2 separate regions of the Homo sapiens genome follow, and region 1 is linked to region 2. Evidence: promoter capture Hi-C in 16 types of primary human blood cells and fetal thymus (Javierre and others, 2016). All regions are on one chromosome and are shown on one strand. Each heading gives the region's core, a stretch centred on a gene start or on the middle of the fragment in contact. The rest is flanking DNA. Distances are from core to core; before and after follow the strand shown.

Evidence for each region. The method cuts DNA at HindIII sites, captures the fragments that hold promoters and counts their contacts. A CHiCAGO score of 5 or more calls a contact.
Region 1: a contact is called between a fragment that was not itself captured here and the fragment with the promoter of C10orf126 in region 2, in 1 of 17 cell types (megakaryocytes). The highest score is 6.3, in megakaryocytes.

The regions. Positions count from the first base shown.
Region 1 is chr10:28,682,135-28,685,341 of GRCh38, reverse strand. BAMBI (BMP and activin membrane bound inhibitor) reads right to left here. Exons shown (of 3, transcript NM_012342.3): 3 at 2,410-3,207. The coding sequence ends at 2,941. Among named protein-coding and RNA genes, the nearest start is that of BAMBI, 6.2 kb to the right of the region's middle. RefSeq lists an enhancer at 559-1,467. The HindIII fragment of the contact is 784 bases long and covers 1,170-1,953 here.
Region 2 is chr10:28,844,959-28,847,894 of GRCh38, reverse strand. C10orf126 (chromosome 10 open reading frame 126) reads right to left here and starts at 1,487. Exons shown (of 5, transcript NR_164114.1): 1 at 1,432-1,487; 2 at 632-776. The HindIII fragment of the contact is 7,202 bases long and covers 1-2,245 here.

The DNA of each region.
Region 1 (3,207 bases), core at 312-2,811, 160 kb after region 2:
GTCCTTAATCTCTGGCTCCTGGCAACTTCTGCACTCTCACAGGGAAGCAAAAGTAAAATCTATATGTAGTTCTTAGTTACATCCAAAGTTGAGGTGCCTGCAGTATTTTCATAAGAAGGCGGATCTGACTTTCAGATTGGTGGTGAGGACACGTGTAAAAACTAAATGAATATCAAGAGAGAGGATTTTTTTAGGAAAAGAGGCAGGGCTGGCCTATTATGTGGCTAGAAGCGGAGCCCCAGAAAACTGAGAGGCCATGGGCACAGTGCCACCTCCCCACAGTACAGGGAGCTGTAAATAGCCTCGTGAATATACAATAGGAAGAACAAAGGCCCAAGATCAAGTGGAGAGGCTGCATGCATCCTCCATGAAGTTTGTGGTAACACCAGTCCAGACATAGGCCTCTCTGGGAGGAAGGGGTTCACTGATTTCAAAGTGTTTCAAAGCACATGACTTTAAATCCTTCATTGTTTTATTTCCTAAAGAATTGCAGAGTTCCTGGTTAACCTGTACTTGGAAAAAATGAGGTGAACCGGCCCTCATCAGGGCAAGCAGAGAAAAGAAACTCTGACTACGTAACAGATATAAAAACTGGCCACTTGAAGAATTGCTGAGCTTGCATAATGTCGTACATGAAATGAGAATGTACAAGGAGCAAGAAGTCCTTTCATCTCTAAACTACAATCTACTATAATGTGATCAAGAGCCAGAGTGGGGTTGGGCAGAGTGGCTCACACCTTAATCCCAGCACTTTAGGAGGCTGAGGCAGGAGGATCACTTGAGGTCAGGAGTTTGGGACCAGCCTGGCCAACATGGTGAAAACCCTGTCTCTACTAAAAATACAGAAATTAGCCAGGCATGGTGGTGGGTGGCTGTAATCCCAGCTGCTTCAGAGGCTGAGGCAGGAGAATCGCTTGAACCCGCGGCGGGGCAGGGGGCAGGGTGGTGTGCACCACGTGTGGTGTGTGGCGAGTGGGGTGGAGGTTGTAGTGATACATATGGCGCCACCGGACTCCAGCCCGGGCGACAGAGTGAGACTCAAAGAGCCAGAGGTGGAGGTGAGGGTGGAAATTTCACCAACAGACAACTTTGATCAATTCCCTTGACAGGTTTGAAGGGTTGGGTTCAACAATTCTTTGGCTTCCTCAAAAACTGACATACATAAAGCTTAACATCTTTTATAAAATATAAGGCATGCATGCAAGAGCTGCTCATCTTAAAAGGGACAGTACGAATGCTATCATTTATTAATATGTGTTTATTCCACAGCTTAGTTTTTTGGGGCAGGTGGTCTATTAATATTAATAAAAGAAAACCCCATACTCGAATATGCAGGCTGTAATTTTTTTTTTTTGAGATGGAGTCTCCCTCTGTTGCCCAGGCTGGAGTGCAGTGGCACAATCTCAGCTTACAACCTCTGCCTCCTGGGTTCAAGCAATTCTCCTGCCTCAGCCTCCCGAGTAGCTGGGACTACAGATGCACGCCACCACGCCCAGCTAATTTTTGCATTTTTAGTAGAGACAGGGTTTCACTATGTTGGCCAGGCTGGTCTTGAACTCCTTACCTTGTGATCCACCTGCCTCGGCCTCCCAAAGTGCTAGGATTACAGGTGTGAGCCACCGCGCCCGGCCTACGGGTTAACTTTTAAGCAAAAATTTCACATATACAAAGGAATTCAGAAGATACCCTCCATGGCATAATATTCTCACATTTAAAATAAGAAAGATCCACTGGGGGCACGGGAAGTACACAAATAAAGCATACGTTTAAATTCAGGATGGGCAATGTTATCAGGACAAAAAGTCTTATAAGAGGAAACATTGTTTCCTAGCTGTATTAGTTACTGGCTAAAGCCAATGTTCTATTTGGTTACATAAAGGATCATTTGGGAGGATGAAACCTAGTAGCAGTTATTTAAATCAATTGGTGTATCGTGTTCACTACAGAAAAGCTTTCTAAGTATTAAAAAAAAAAAAAGCATCACACTGTTGAAGCACAAGGTTTAAAATTAAGTGTGTTGTACAGTAAGGTTTGGCTAATTGGGGAGCCAAAATACTTAATTTGGCTTAGGACAAAATAAACTGGCCAATTAATCAACAGTAAAAGGAGACAGTGACTGACTTGAACAAAAAAACAGTTGTTTAGTTGGTTTTTTTTTCTTTTTTGGGTGGAGGTATACACATTGGAAAAGGTATTCCGGAACACCTGGATCAAAATGACCTTTGCTAGGTCAACTCCAGAAATTGATCAATCATATCTGACCTGGTACACATAAATTCCAGATCTCCTTCTTAGATGAAAGCTAAAACCAGAGTTATCCTATAGCCAGAATGTGGGTAAGACACTAAAAGATGGTCAGTATACATTTAGAAACTCCACACTGTAAGAAAATTACACAGGCACATGGAAGAATAAGCAAGATCTTGGTCTTGTTTAAAAAAGAAAAGAGAAAAAAAAAAACCAAGCCACATCCTAGAGTTGAGAACAAATTATTAACAGCAAATGGCCATTTGTATAATTAACATGTACTGTCTCACGTTTCCCAGTTAAATTTATGAAAGACACTATTAAATTTCAGACAAAATATATATATTTCTTTTAAATCTTTACAATAAATCAAGATGTAGAAGCTTACATAGGGCACATTTTTGTTTATTTAGGTACTCAATTCCAGCTCCCTTGGATGCAAATAACCCTGGTGACAGTGTGTACAAAGTCTTCTCTTTGCTTTTTATAATTTTAAAAGCAAATAACACATTTAACTGTATTTAAGTCTGTGCAAATAATCCTTCAGAAGAAATATCCAAGATTCTGTTTGCAGAGGTCATTTTGTCTCTCAAAGATGATTAAATGAGTTTGTCTTCAGATAAAGTGCTCCTGTCCAGCAGAACTCAAAAGGCCTTCAAGCTGTTCAGTAAGTGTAGTTCAGATAAGACTCCGTCATACGAATTCCAGCTTCCCGTGCCCACTGTACATGCCCCAGTGAACAAGCGAGAGGATCTTATCGTTGCTGAGGTCTGCTTGTCTCATTTTATCACAGGTCAGACAGCAGTTCTCGTGCCCACTGACCGGCACCATGCATTCCAAGTCTAACTTTGCAACCTGCCCCTTTTTGGAATGGTGTCCGTGAAAGCTGTAGTGCAAACGGGAGAGCATCTGTTGCCGCTGATCCTGCAGCCTCTTATTTTCACTTCGAAGCATCCTCAG
Region 2 (2,936 bases), core at 238-2,737:
CCTTGGATACCTTGCTTCTCTCTGACCTCTCAAATGCCTGAATCCTCTCTCCATCCGGGGCTTTCCCGTCCACCAGAACATTCTTCCAAGTCACTGACATTGAACGTTTTAGGCAGGGCTCAGTGGCCCGTGCCTGTAATCCCAACACTTTGGGAGGACAAGGCAAGAGGATCACTAAAGGCCAGGAGTTCAAGACCAGCCTGAGCCTTGCTCTGTTGCCCAGGCTGGAGTGCAGTGGCATGATCATAGCTCACTGCAGCCTCGAGCTCCTGCGCTCAAGCAATCCTCCCGCCTCAACCTCCTGAGTAGTTGGGACTCCAGGCATGAGCCACCATGCCTGGCCGCAACATTCAGATGGATTTTTAAACTACCTGAGCTAAGTTAATTTCCTCATAGATTGGATGTGGATGTGAGAGCAAAAGAAGAGTCAAGGATGACCCAAGGGTTTGCTTTGAGCACATTCCTCAGTGCTTCCAGGGCATATGGCCTCTGAATGGTGCCCATGGGCTTATAAATCCATCTCCTCCCAAGAGATAACACATTTATTTTGTCCCTGGACCTTATGAAAGTTGTCAGAATCAAAATAGAATCACTAGTGTTTTTTAAGGAAAACAACAAACAAACAAAAAACCTGAACTGGATGCAGTGGTTCATGGCTGTAGTCGCAACTCAGGAAGCTGAGGCAGGAGGACTATTTGAGCTCAGGAGGTTGAGGCTGCAGTGAGCTATGATCACACCATTGCACTCCAGCCTGGGCGACAGAAAGAGGCCCATCTCTAAAAAACAAACATAAAAAGACTTCACTCTCATCACTCTTGAGATTAAGGATTTACCTAAGTAGTAAAATATGTCAGATCAGATTCTGGCCTCAGGAACTCTGAATCTGGGATGTGAAAAGGTTTCTGGAGAGGCATTCTGTTTCTCATATCATTAACCACAGGAAGATATTATTTGGTATACAAGAGGACATTGCTTAAAGAGGTGAGAAACAGAAACTATCTCTCCCTTATATTTCTCCAAATACCTTGTAAAGTTGTGAGTTAAAGAAAAAAGAATGATGTTCACTCAAAGGGGAGATGCAAAAATAAAAAGGTAAAACCTTTTCCCTTACCCTAAGGAGATAATGTGTGCATTTTAAAAAAGTTCTAATATTGTTTCTGCAAGTCAATATATAAGCATTATTGAAAAGTCCAATCTTGCCTGTGTTTTACAGCTCTCAGCTCCTTTCAGGAAGCAACTAAATCAGAAAACAGTGTTCTCTCTTCCTTGGAGCTGGCACAGGTTTTGATAACATCGATTGAATGCCAAGCGTAAGTACAGATTGGAAGTTAGAAGTATTGCTATTGACCGTTTTCTAATATGTCCTTCAGCTCAGTAATTAATCGATTTGTGACAAAATGAATAAGAAGCTGAGGTCTTCTAAGAGCTTACCATGTGGCAGACGCGAGCTCAGTGCTGTACATTCGCATTCATGCTCTTCATCCCTGTCTCTCAAGCCACTCGTCACACCCACACTCTCCGGGCCAGGAGGCTTGCACAACCTGCACTGGGAAACTTTCTCCCACCTGTTCTTGACTCCTGAAACCCCTCCACGGTGCCATCAGCCTGATCCACTAATAGCAAAACGCCTCACATCCCAAACTAACTTCCAAATAGTCCCTCCTTGTTCTGACAAAAACTGACTCTTCCCTGAGGACGATGCTCACATCTTCTCTCATGCGCTGGCTGTTTTTCTTTTTCTTTTTTTGAGATGGAGTCTCCCTCTGTAGCCAGGCTGGAGTGCAGTGGTGCGGTCTCAGCTCACTGCAACCTCCACCTCCCGGGTTCAAGTGGTTCTCCTACCTCAGCCTCCCAAGTAGCTGGGATTACAGGCACACACCACCACACCCAGCTAATTTTTGTATTTTTAGTGGAGACGGGGTTTCACCATGTTGACCAGGATGGTCTCAATCTCTTGACCTCGTGATCTGCCCGTCTCAGCCCCCCAAAGTGCTGGGATTACAGGCGTGAGCCACTGCGCCCAGCCACTGGCTGTTTTTCATTCCAGGCCCTCCTGCCACCTCCTGCAGACCTGGAGGTGATGGAGGGACCCTGCTGGTCCTCTTTTCCCCTTCCAGAACCTTCTCCTTCCCTTCTACTGCAAATCTCGTACCATCATCATCTATCACCCCTGAAACTGTCCCTAGAAACTTTATACAATTAATCAGAAGAGAAGGGAGGGAGAGAAACAAAAATAAGCCAAGCTTGCACATACTCAGTGTTAGTCATGGGGTCAGCTGTTCTCTGATCCTTCCTCATAGTGTTTTGCTACCTATTGCTCCAGAATCACACAGACCCTGTCACAAGATTAGAGTCCCCCTTCACTGCTCCACAGATAACAACTGAACATTGTGAAATGTTGCTTTCCATTTGAGATATTCTTGTAGGTCATGCATACTGATGAAACTACTGACGCCAGCTGGTCTGAAGGACCCCACGAGAAGCTGACTCACTGAAGAATGCAGTTTCTACATCCTGATGATTTCATCCCCCTTTCCCCAACCAATCAATGACTATAGTTTTTCAGCCCCTCACCCCCCATAATCCCCTTGAAAACCTCAGCCTAGAACTCTTCGGGGAGATGGATTTGAGGGTCTTCTCCCATCTGCTCACTCGGCCTCCCTGCTGTCATCAAACCCTCTCTCTGCTGCAAAGCCTGCTGTCTTGGTGTATTGGTCTGTTTCTGCACAACAGGCATACAAACATGTTGGTCCTGTAATACCCCTGCCCAACATTGTTCACCACCTTTTTCAACAACATCAGTTCTCAGCCCATTGGCATCCTCCCCAATACTTCTCCTCTCTTTTCTGAGCATGTTCAATGCATAGATAATAATCTTTCCAAAACTCCACCATCATAGGTCATTAAACTTCTCTCCTCCTTCAGGCATCTTGACC